Regions from separate parts of the Homo sapiens genome. Here all the other regions are linked to region 2. Evidence: promoter capture Hi-C in 16 types of primary human blood cells and fetal thymus (Javierre and others, 2016). All regions are on one chromosome and are shown on one strand. The core of a region is centred on a gene start or on the middle of the fragment in contact, and the rest is flanking DNA. Distances in the headings are between cores, read along the strand shown.

Region 1 (3,488 bases), core at 43-2,542, 640 kb before region 2:
GATGATTTCATTTCAAAGGAAGGGCCTGCAAGTCCCTGAGAAAGACACTCTTGGGTTGTAGAGATACATATCCATCTCACAGGGACAGAGGAGGCATTCACAATTGTAAGCTTTTTTTTTTTTTTTTTTTTTTTAAATAAATGCTCTAAGAAGTAAGGTCTAGGGCTTGTCTCCAGGTGTTGGCTGGGACAAACTAAGTTATTTGGCAGCCTTGCCCCTTTTCAGACAGGAACTCAAGAGGGCGGTGGGGGCTACTAAAAGCAATGCTAGAGTTTAGTCGACTCCCTTAGTGCAGGGGTTTGGGCCGAATTGCTTCTGCACTTCTCAGGTGGGCTTCTCTGCACGTGGTCATCATCCCAGATGAGAGAGAAAGCAAGGCCCAGCCACAAGTACATTGTAAGCCTCTGCTTGCTTCATGTTTACTAATATTTCCTGGGCCAGAGAAAGCCAGATGGCCAAGCCCAGATTCAAGGGGTGGAGAAACAGATTCCCTCTCTGGCTGGGAGGAGCAGCATGGCTCTCTTGCAGAGGGGCGTGCAGAGGGGCGGGAGGAATCATTGCAGCCATCTTCACCAACAATCTACCAGAAATTCTAGTCCAGCGCCAACCTGGCCTTTCTCCTGAGCCCCTATTTTCCAAGCAGAAAAAAATACAAAATTTTAGTCATATGTCTATCTCTGCTCAAAGCTTAGTGCATTCTGGTAATTTAAATAGCCTGTTTAGGTAGATGGAATCTCTGGAATAAAAATGCTCTTAGCCTCTGCTCTTCCTAATTTTCTCATGGTGTCTAGGGGGAGGGATGTGGCAGAGAAGCATTTGGTCTAGCTGCTGTTGGTCTGTTTGGGTCTTGAACATGCCACAGTGTGATTGAGATGCCAAGCCATGACCTAGCCAGAGCTGCATCAACCTGGAGAAAGGGGCACCTCTTTCTAATTGGCCACCCCAGGGGGGTGCCTTTTGCCTTCCCTCCGCCCAAAAAAGTACCTTCTTCTAATGTGCACAAAGACATCATCTATGCTAGCAGCAGTGGCCCAGGGCAACATTCTCTACTTCTCTAGTCTTCTGGAGGCTGTTCCTTAGTTGGCTGGGTACATCCTGCCCTCCTGGCCCTTGCAGTAGAAGCCTGTGCCTGGAGAGCTCCCCTAGTCACGATCTGACCTCCCCCAGCTTGCTGGGATCCAGTGGCACTTGCTGGCTGGATTGGCCTCCCCCAGCTCTTTATTTTTTTTATTAATTTTTATGGGTACATAGTAGGTGTATCTATGGGGTACATGGGATATTTTGATATAGGCATGCAATGCATAGTGATCACATCATGGTAAATAAGGTATCCATCACCTCAAGCATTTACCCTTTCTTTGTGTTACAAATATTCCAATTATACTTTTAGCACTCTGCTAAGTGTTTCAAGTCTGATTTTTCTTTTTATGCGCTAAAAGAAGGGGTCGATTTCCAGATATGGAAAATTGTTTCTCAAAAAAAAATCCTGGCTTATAAGACTATCTTATTGCATAATTGTACCTTGTACATCAGAAGCTATTAAGTTCCTGTTTGTGGGTTTTTTTTTTTTTTTTTTTTTTTTTTTTTACATAAATGCTAATCTCCACGACATTTTCCTGGGAGATGCTGGCAGACAGGAGGAGTGCTACTCTGAGTGAGGTCCAGGGACCTCAGCACCAGCACCACACAGGAGCTTGTGAGAAATGCAGATCCTCGGGGACTAGCCCAGACCTGATAAAGCAGAATCTTTAAAAACAGGGCCTAGGAATCTGGATTTAAAAAATTCTTCTGGGAGATGTTGGTGCCCACTAAAGTTTGAAAAGCATTGGACTAGGGTATGGGGTTTGTACTACACTAAAAAATGCAGATGAGGAGTCTTCATTTTTATTTGGCCCTTCAAAGCTTCCCATGCTCTTTTCATGGAAGACTCTGGATCATTTGAGATGAAATCACTACAGTAGTTAGTGAACTGTCCACTCAGTAAATGTGCCATTTCTCAATAATTGGTCCCAAATGGCAAACGCAATAAACAAGGGCTCTTTCTCTCCCTTCTGTGTTATGTATGGTCTCTGTCGGGACCAAAGCCGAGATAGGAAAAGGAGGGTTATTCATTTGCCCTCCAGCTTTTTTATTTCACACACTCAGAAGCAGATACGGAAAAGAGGCAAGCGGTTGTGGAGTGAGCCTTAGGAGCCACCTATGCAGGAAGGCTCCCAAGACCCCACGATGCTGCCGTACCAGGCTGCTGTGGTGATTTTAAACAAGCCTAGTGGGAAGCAGCTGAGCCAGTATAGGAACTGGCTCCTTGTCAGCCTTTAAAAGGCTGTTAACTCTACAGCCAGTTAACTCTGCATCCAGGTGCTGCGGTATGGTTTGTGACACTAGAGGGCAGCAGAGGGTCAGGTGTCTCTGCAGGTGGCTGGGGAGGTGTAGGACACCACCCAGGGAGGGGCTTGCAGCCTAGGGTGGCAGTGACAAAGAAGAGCCAAGGACACAGTCAAAACACAAGCCTCAGGGGCCAGTTGTGGAAATATCACTCCCCTCAAGGGAAATGATAGAATCCGAAACAAGAGCACCTGAGCCCAGAGAAGCCAGAATGGTGTTGGAACGCAGAGAGGATGAGAGCCGGAGTGAGGACCAGGCTGGAGGTACTGGGGTAACTCCCACCCTTGGGGACACACACGGTGACCTGGGGGCTGGTTTCTGCGGGAAACGTGGCTCTAAAGGCGTGCCAGCATGCCCAGCCCCTTGCACCGCAACAGTCTAAATTTACCCATGTCTTGGTTTTCTCTCCGACAGTAGGTGCTGCTCCCACTGCTGACTCATCTATTTCATGACAAGAAGTCTAAGGACTTAGTGACACAGCTCTTTAGCAGATCTGAAGTGGAGAGCAGCCTCAGAATGGCTGTGCTGCCCAAGGCCTCACCTCTGTGACAGACCCTGTGGAGCCCATCAGCCTCGAGTGCAGCAATCCATCAATCCATCAGCACGGGGGAGATGTTGTGTGTACTCCTCCTGCCACTCACCGGCCGGCGGGCCCTCTGGCGCTCATCTCCCTGCTTTCCCAAGGCTGCACATTTCTGAAGAGCACCTTGGAAATGGAGCCGCGGTTTCCCCTAATCTTGACCCCAAAGAAAAGATGATCTTGACCTACATTGGAACCCGCCCCTCTGCCTGCCACTGGCCGGGGGCAGCCCATGCCGGTGCAGCCTCGGAAGGGCAGGGAGATGAGAGCCAGAAGGCCTGCCAGTGAGTGACAGGTGGAGGGCACATGACACCTCTCCGGTGCTGATGTATTGCTGCACTGTAGTGTGATGGGTTCCACAGTTACAGAGATGTGGCCTTGGGCAGCACAGCCATTCTGAGTCTCGTGAAAGGGAAGATGATAATTATTGTGCTGTCCCTAAGGTGCCCAGAGCTCTAGCAAACACTCTTTCCTGTTTTCTCTTCCACTCCCCTCCACAGCTGCATAATACTGTGATAAGCAA
Region 2 (4,068 bases), core at 91-2,590:
ACCAGCCTGGGCAACATGGTGAAACCACACCCCTCCACTTCTCTACTAAAAGTACAAAAAATTATCCGGGCGTGGTGGTGGGCACCTGTAAACCCAGCACTTCGGGGGGCCAAGGTGGGCGGATCACTTGAGGCCAGGAGTTGGAGACTAGCCTGGCCAACCAACATGGTGAAATCCCATCTCTACTAAAAATATGAAAATTAAGTGGTGGCTTGCGCCTGTAGTCCCAGCTACTGGGAAGGCCGAGGCACGAAAATCGCTTTAACCTGGGAGGCGGAGGTTGCAGTGAACCTAGATCGAGTCATTGCATTCCAGCCTGGGCGACAGAGCGAGACTCTGTCTCAAAAAAAAAAAAAAAAAGTTCCTGGAACCGTTTCTGCACATCACTGAAAAATGATAGCCTCTCCCCAAATATCCTAACTTAAAGGTGCTATTAGGAGAATCTTGCTGCCTGCTAATAATGGGGTGTCCATAATTACCCCATGACTTCAGTGAATTCTCGTGCCTGTTTCTCCCGATCTAAAATGGGTATATTTCATTTACTAAATTTACTTCTGAGTACTGTTGGGGAAAAGATCCCGGTGTTTGTTGAAGAATGCTAGATATAATGAAAGTTAAACACAGTTTAACAAATTAAAATTATTCCCTATTGCTCTGTAATATCTAATTGCACACTGCTCTACCCCAGACCATTGTATTATCTCCCCGCCCCCCCCCCCAGAATATCATGAAATGCAACATATTTGCTAAACCAGTTTTGGTGATTTAAAACAAGTTCCAAGCACAAGCTTCTTTCTTGTAATGGTCAAGTGGCCTACGAAACCAAAGCGCCAACTGAGAACGTTTTGCTGCTGCACTCTGAAATCCCAGCGAGAACGCAGGCAGCGATGGCAGTTCTGGAGCACCGGGTTCCACTTCTGCCTCTGACCGGCTTTGTGACTTCCACCACATTAGATCTGAGTTTCCTCCATGTAAAATGGGGCGGGAATGGAGGCTGGACCTGGGAGGTGTCGCTGATGATCGTCTCTGACTCGCTAAGTCGCGGAGTCACAAAAGTGGCGGAAAGCATGCCCTCACTTTTTGGGAAGAGTAGGACGAGGGGCGGGGCTGCAGCGAGACCCACCAGTCTCGCTTTCCAGGGCAGGCGGCGGCCAGGAGCTACAGCTGTGGGCTGCACTCCCGGCGTGGAGTCTCCTTCCTGCCCGCGCAGGCCCCGGCGCCCCAGCGAAACGCTCCGGCCGCTCCCCTCTCCCAACACTCTGGTTCCCGGGCCGCCTGCGGGGACGCGGTTGGCGGCGACACCGGAGGGGGGTGGGTCAGGAAGTGGGGGCGCGGCGGCCAGGAGCGGGCCCCCGGAGGCCGAGGGGTTCGGCGACGCGGAGGGAGGGAGAGTCTGGGCCGCGCGGGAGCCGCAGGGCGCCCTAGCCTTCGCAGAAACGATGGCGGAGGAAGAAGGTGATTGCCGCGGGGTCCAGCGCGCCAACGGCTGCCAGTGGTCTCGGGAAGGAGGGGCGGGGGCGCTGGAGGTCTGGGTTGGAGCTGCTGGTGGCCGCGGTCGCGGTGGCGGCCGCGCGGGCAGGGCGGGAAGGAGCGCGGCGCCCAGGAGAGGACTGCGGAGAAATTCAGGAGAGCGGAGCAAATGGCCCGAAGTTTTGTCGGCCGAATTGGGAAGCAAAGGTGGAGCTGAAAGTTGGGAATCCGTAGCAAGAGAGAAAGCTGTGCCGGGAGTGGTTGGGAAAGAGGGAGGGTCCTGATCAGATTCTTGGTGAAGTGGGAGGCGCAGTTTGGTTTCGAAGATCAGGTTTAGGTACTCAGTGCATATTTGGAATGCGATTTTTAAAGGGCTGTGGATATTGACAAACCCAGAGGCACAGGGGGCGAGGGAACATTCACCACGGGGATAAAGAGGCAGGGATTTGGGATAAACGTGGCAAGATTAATTGGGAATGGGCGAACACGCAGAAACTGAAGAAAGCCAAGTTCACTTAGGTTCAGGGGAAAATGGTAAAGAGCAGAGCCATCTAATTATTATAGTTTTGGGAGATGATGAGGCCAGGAGGCCTTTGAGGGTCAAAGTGGGTGAGCTGGAGAAAGGTTTCCATGCCGCCTTCAGGATCAATGCTAAGATAAGTAATTCATTCAGCAGTATTTTATTTATAGAAAATGATAAGTATGAGACAAAAATGGGAAGTTAGATGAAACTTATCGGTTAGTGATAAACAATACAAGGAATACTCATGGCATAGTAACTTCATGATAACCCCTACTAGTTTCAGGAAGTGAGAAGCAATTAGATTTTTGCATTCTGGTGGAAAACACAACTTTTTACCTTATGAGTGGAGCTGTGGATGTGATAGTAAATCGATCTAATTTAGACTCAAGCCCCCCTGCCTTTTTTTTTTTTGAAACGGAGTTTCGTTCTTGTTGCCCAGTCTAGAGTGCAAAGGCGCGATCTCGGTTCACCGCAACCTCCGCTTCCTGGATTCAAGCGATTCTCCTGCCTCAGCCTCCCTAGTAGCTGGGATTACAGGCATGCGCCATCACGCCCGGTTAATGTTATATTTTGAGTAGAGACGGGGTTTCTCCATGTTGGTCAGGCTGGTCTTGAACTTCTGACCTCAGGTGATCCGCCCACCTCGGCCTCCCAGAGTGCTGGGATTACAGGCGTGAGCCACGGGTCCAGCCGACTCAAGCCTTTCTGAATCAAGAGTGCAAGGAAGGAGTTTAAAGGATTCAGCGGAAAGCAATTTTTAAAAATTAAGCATAAGAAGTGTTTACTGATGTGTGACTTGCTGACCTGTCCCTATGCAGGCTTGGTTCATATTTGTTTCCATTGAGTTTTCAGAGTGTTAAAGCTGGTCTGAATTTAAGACATTCTAACTAAAAACAGCTTCAAAAACAAAGCTATTTGTCGTTGGTGAGAAAGAATGTAATTCCATTTGTTTACTTGGTTCTGTCTGTGGTTACAGTATATCATCATTTGAAATATTTCTTGATGTATTTTTCTTTTCTAATTGCAAATTTATGGGGGTAGGTTGATATACTAGCTTGTAGGTTCCTATGAGTACATTCATGCTTAACTTAAAGCATTAAAAAAGTTAAGACTGCATTAAAAAATCAGTACTACAATACTGAAAGTCTTTAATACATCATGCAAAATGAAAAATTATTTTAGACTATGGTTGTACTTAAATAGATCTGTGGAGCCAATATTAAAAGATTGTACCGTTTTGTAAATTTTACTTACGTGATGTAAAATGATAAATGGGCGGGGCATGATGGCTCATGCCTGTAGTCCCAGCACTTTGGGAGGCCAAGGCGAGTGGATCACTTGAAGTCAGAAGTTCGAGACCAGCCTGGCTAACACAGTGAAACCCCATCTCTACTAAAAATACAAAAATCAGCCGGGTGGAGTGGCAAGTGTCTGTAGTCCCAGCTACTCAGGAGGCTGAGATAGGAGAATCACTTGAACCCGGGAGGCGGAGGTTGCAGTGAGCCAAGATTGCACCATTGCACTCCAGCCTGGGTGACAGAGTGAGACTCCATCTAAAAAAAAATAAAATTAAGGCCGGGCAAGGTGGCTCACGCCTGTAATCCTAACACTTTGGGAGGCCAAGGTGGGCGGATCACGAGGTCAGGAGTTCGAGACCAGCCTGGCCAATATGGTGAAACCCTGTCTCTACTAAAAAATACAAAAGTTAGCCGGGCATGGTGGCGCATGCCTATAGTCCCAGCTACCCGGGAGGCTGAGGCAAGAGAATCGATGGAACCCAGGAGGCCGAGGTTGCAGTGAGACGAGATCGCCCCACTGCACTCCAGCCTGGGTGACAGAGTGAGACTCCCTCTCAAAAATAAAATAAATAAAATGATAAATGATTTTTGGTTGTAGAATTACATATAATTCAAAAGCAGTTAAATACATCTTACATGGGACAATTAATGGGTTGTAATTTATTAAAATATTGCTTTATTCAACACATTTCTAATTCCATAAATATGTGTATTCATACCCTATTAGATGCAAGGATATAATAGTCAACAATGAATGAGTAAATTTTCATTTATTAT
Region 3 (3,841 bases), core at 56-2,555, 600 kb after region 2:
GGTATTTAGAATGTGATGGAACTGATGAATGAATGACAGTATAGAGTAGTCAGTGACATTTCTTTTTATCAATATTTTGATCAAGGACTGCCAAATACTATGTAGATAGTCCTGACATCAGGAAGTTAGCTACATGGACAGATGCTGTGTAGGTCTGGATCTCAGAGGGAAAGTCCAACCCTGTCGTTCTGCCTGTGGGCAGGTGCCCCTCTGGGATTCACTGTTCCTGAATCTATAGCCACAGAAATCTATCCTAGGTACACACAGTATGCATACCAGGAGAATGATGGAATTTGTAATGATCATTAGTGTAATGGACATTTGAAATGTTTATACTACCTAGCATTCATTCGTCCTTCCTAGAAACATCCTGATTTCCTTTTGAGGCAAGGCTTTGCTCACTGTGATGTCTTGGGACAATCCCTATGTCAGTTAGCTGTTATGGAAGTGAAAAGGACAAGATTTTTTCTCTCCCTATCCTGGCATAGCCTGGGGTAGGGTATGGGTGTGGCATATCACCAAAGCTTAGAAATCAGACACATCTTCCTGGGACTTTGAATTTTGAGTGAGTGATGGAAAAATGAGAGAAACAGTTGGAATTTCTGTAGTTCAGTGGTGGTGCCCTGACCAGTGCTTAGTTCTTGATTCCTGGTTCTCTGGAGCTGGCTTGGATTCTGCCTGCTTCCAGGCTGGCTCTGCAGCTTCTGGTCAGTTCCTCAAGCCCCTCATTTCACTTGGCTGGAGTTAGCCATCTGGATTAGTCTGCTCAGGCTGCCACAGACTGCAAGGCTGAAACAACAGAAATTAATTTCCCCACAGTTCTGGAGGCTGAAAGTCCAAGATTGACGTTCCAGCAGGGGCTGTAGACTGTAAGTTTGTGTTATGGTTTCTTGTGAGGGCTCTGTTCCCTGCTTGCAGATGGCCACTTTGGCCTCTCATGGCCAAAAGAAACCTCTGTGCATGTATGTGGGAAGAGAGGAGAAAGGACAGAGCATGCATGAGGGAGCAAGCTCCCCGATGTCTCTTCTTATAAGAACACTAATCCTGTTGGATCAGGGTCCCACTCTTACGAACTCATTTAACCTTAATTACTTCCTTACTCAAAATACAGTCCACACTGTGGGGTTACGGCTTCAACATATGAACTTACTCTGGGGGAGGACACAAACTTACAGTCCATAACACTAGCCAAGGTCAGTTTTCCTTGCTTGCAAATCAGGAAACTAAATCTAAATTTGCTAGTCTTATTTTTTCCTTCTGAACTCCAAAATAAAAATGCTTTGTTCTTTCATCTTGTTCTGCAAAACTAGCTCTACATTGTTGGTCAAAACAGTAGTCTGTTTAACAAAAAGCAAGGGAACTTTGACCGACATCAGTCCTCCTTTCACCTCCTCTCACCTCCTCTCCTCCTTGCATCTTTGCTGGCTCTCATGGCATTTCTTGAGCAAGCCTGTCAGGCAGGCAGGTGACTGGAGACTCTCTGATGTCATTCTCCACACTGATGTCAGATGCCAACCTTGGGGCTGGCTGGGTGGAAAAATGACCAGCTTGGCTCTGAGAGTTCTGGCTCCATGTTGCAAGAAGTTGGCAATTTTCTTCTTCCTTTTTTCTTTTTATTGCTTGTTCCACAGTCTGAGGCACATACACAGCTGGTTGGCAGTTCTGCTTCTAAAGCTGTGGCACTCCCCATCTTAAAGGTTTTGAATCTGCCTGCTGTTCCAGACATGGGGACAATGACAAATTATATTAAGCCAGGCCCTTCTTCCAAGGATCCCCAAGTTAGAAGTCTGTGTGGAGCCTGGCAGAGGGAAATGTACATTAAACTCTCCCAAGGATAAGGCTGTTCTCGAACAATCCACCCCATGCCACATTTATACCTGAAGAGTCACCAACCAGGTTGGAGAAAGGTGCATATGAATGTGGCTCTGAAAAACTTTTGCTTCATGCTCATTTCATTTTTTATTCTGCCCCAGTAGTCCCCTCTGCACCTGGGAATCACTCAGTATGAAGTAAACCATAGCACTTTCCAGAACTGTTTTTGTGTTTTTTCAACTGCAGATGTCCGGGAAACAGTAAACTCTTGTTTTGAAGCTTTTTAAAAATTGAGCTTTTGATTCCAAGCAACTGAAAATGGTTCCTGTTTATGTTTCTTATTGGTGATAGTTTAACTAGCTAGATTTTGTTTTTTCTGGATTATGGTTTTTTTTTTTTTTTTTTTTAATAGTTTTCCTTTAGGAGTTTACCAGTCCCTGGAGCTCATTGGTAGCAGAGGAAAAAAGTGTCCGGAGAAATTGAATTTCTTTTATGTCCACAGAAAAAGTGGCCAGCTGCCATTATAGGATAAACCTAGGGCTTTCTTCCCAGGGGCTCATGGATTAGTAAAATCTGAGCAATGGTACTGCCCTTTTTTTGGTAAGGCTAGAATATATACTTTGGAAAGTGTCTATAAAATTAAGTCAATATAACCACTTATTTCTGGCATTTGTTATGGGATAATTATCCTAATAGTTCTTTAGTCTTGTAATTTAGTAAAATGGATATTTTCCTTACTCTTGAGTTGCTTGGGCAAGCATGACTAATAGTTACCGAAGTGTAGATCGTTTATTAACATGTCTAAATCCTTCTTTTTAAGTCAGCCTAACAGGTAGTTGTTACCATCATGCAGCATTTTCACCAGTTCTTCCCATACCTAACAATTAAAATTGCCCACATGTGATTGAGAATTCATTGTGTGTACATTTCTGGGTTCCAGGATGGGGCCTGAATGAGGGATGTGATAAAGGAAGTATTTACAGATAAAGCATGCATATTTGTAGTTAGTTTAGACTATAGATAATGCAGATTATGTGGAAATCAAAGTGGAGACAGAGTTGGTTTTGTCAGGGCATGTTTCTTAGAGGGGAGTTTATGGAGTTGTTGGTGGGAAGTGCTAATTCCAGGCTGGAAGATGGCTGAGAAGAAATGCGAATGGAAAAGCCAGGTAGGTGAGAAAACTAATTATTGTTGAGCAGTCATACGTGCCTGACACTGTGCTAGTGCTTTACCACTGTCTTCAAAAATTAAATCTCCTTTATTAATTTACAATGTGGTAGGAATTTTTTGCTTTATTTGGGAGGAGGAAACTAAGACTAGGGTTATGCAAAGAATATTAGAGGTGATAGTAGAATTTAGGGTTACTTGACTCCAAATAATGAAAGTGAATAAGACTAACATAGGAGATACTTCCCTGGCTGCAAGGGAGGGGTCTTCATGGGGTGAATCAAGAGAAGAATTTGATTCCTTGGGACTGGGACAGTGAAGGCACATTTATATCTCATAGGAAAGACAACCTGAGGCTCCTGTAGCTCCTTGAGCAGGCTACTGACATGATAGGGAAGCACATTATATCTGTGATATTTATCCATGATGTTGAGAGTATCAGTAGTTTTTTCTTTATTGCCATGTCATAGTCTATGGATGATGAACACTTTGGTTGTGTCCAGTAATGACTTTCTACAATAAAGCTGCTAGTGACAATCTTATACAAGTCTTTTAGTGTTTGAAACCACTGATTTTTGTTTGAGATATTCCCAAGAGAAGAAAGACTATATCACAGGCATACACGTGTTTGGCTTTAGTAGGCACTGCCAGGCAAACATTTTCCCAAGCTGGTTGTACCTATTTACATTCTTATCAGCAGGGTAGAAGAGTTCCAGTCTGTTTAACTTTCATATCTTGTCTTCCTGGCATGACTTCGGATAGGAAATTATGCAACAAGGGACATACTGTTTCTTATCAGCCATATGGCCTGCACAGAGACTGTGGGTCACAGTGGTGTAAAAAAACACCAAACAACTTAATA

What was found. The method cuts DNA at HindIII sites, captures the fragments that hold promoters and counts their contacts. A CHiCAGO score of 5 or more calls a contact.
Region 1: a fragment that was not itself captured here is called in contact with the fragment with the promoter of DPY19L4 in region 2 in 1 of 17 cell types (naive CD8 T cells); the score reaches 5.4 in naive CD8 T cells.
Region 3: a fragment that was not itself captured here is called in contact with the fragment with the promoter of DPY19L4 in region 2 in 1 of 17 cell types (neutrophils); the score reaches 5.9 in neutrophils.

What each region holds. Positions count from the first base shown.
Region 1 is chr8:94,077,550-94,081,037 of GRCh38, forward strand. No RefSeq gene overlaps it. Among named protein-coding and RNA genes, the nearest start is that of CDH17, 130 kb to the right of the region's middle. The HindIII fragment of the contact is 1,215 bases long and covers 686-1,900 here.
Region 2 is chr8:94,718,560-94,722,627 of GRCh38, forward strand. DPY19L4 (dpy-19 like 4) reads left to right here and starts at 1,341. Exons shown (of 19, transcript NM_181787.3): 1 at 1,341-1,455. The coding sequence starts at 1,440. RefSeq lists an enhancer at 434-1,388 and a silencer at 1,149-1,468. The HindIII fragment of the contact is 11,065 bases long and covers 787-4,068 here.
Region 3 is chr8:95,313,962-95,317,802 of GRCh38, forward strand. All of the region lies in intron 1 of CFAP418-AS1 (CFAP418 antisense RNA 1), which reads left to right. Among named protein-coding and RNA genes, the nearest start is that of TRS-AGA2-5, 46 kb to the left of the region's middle. The HindIII fragment of the contact is 1,567 bases long and covers 523-2,089 here.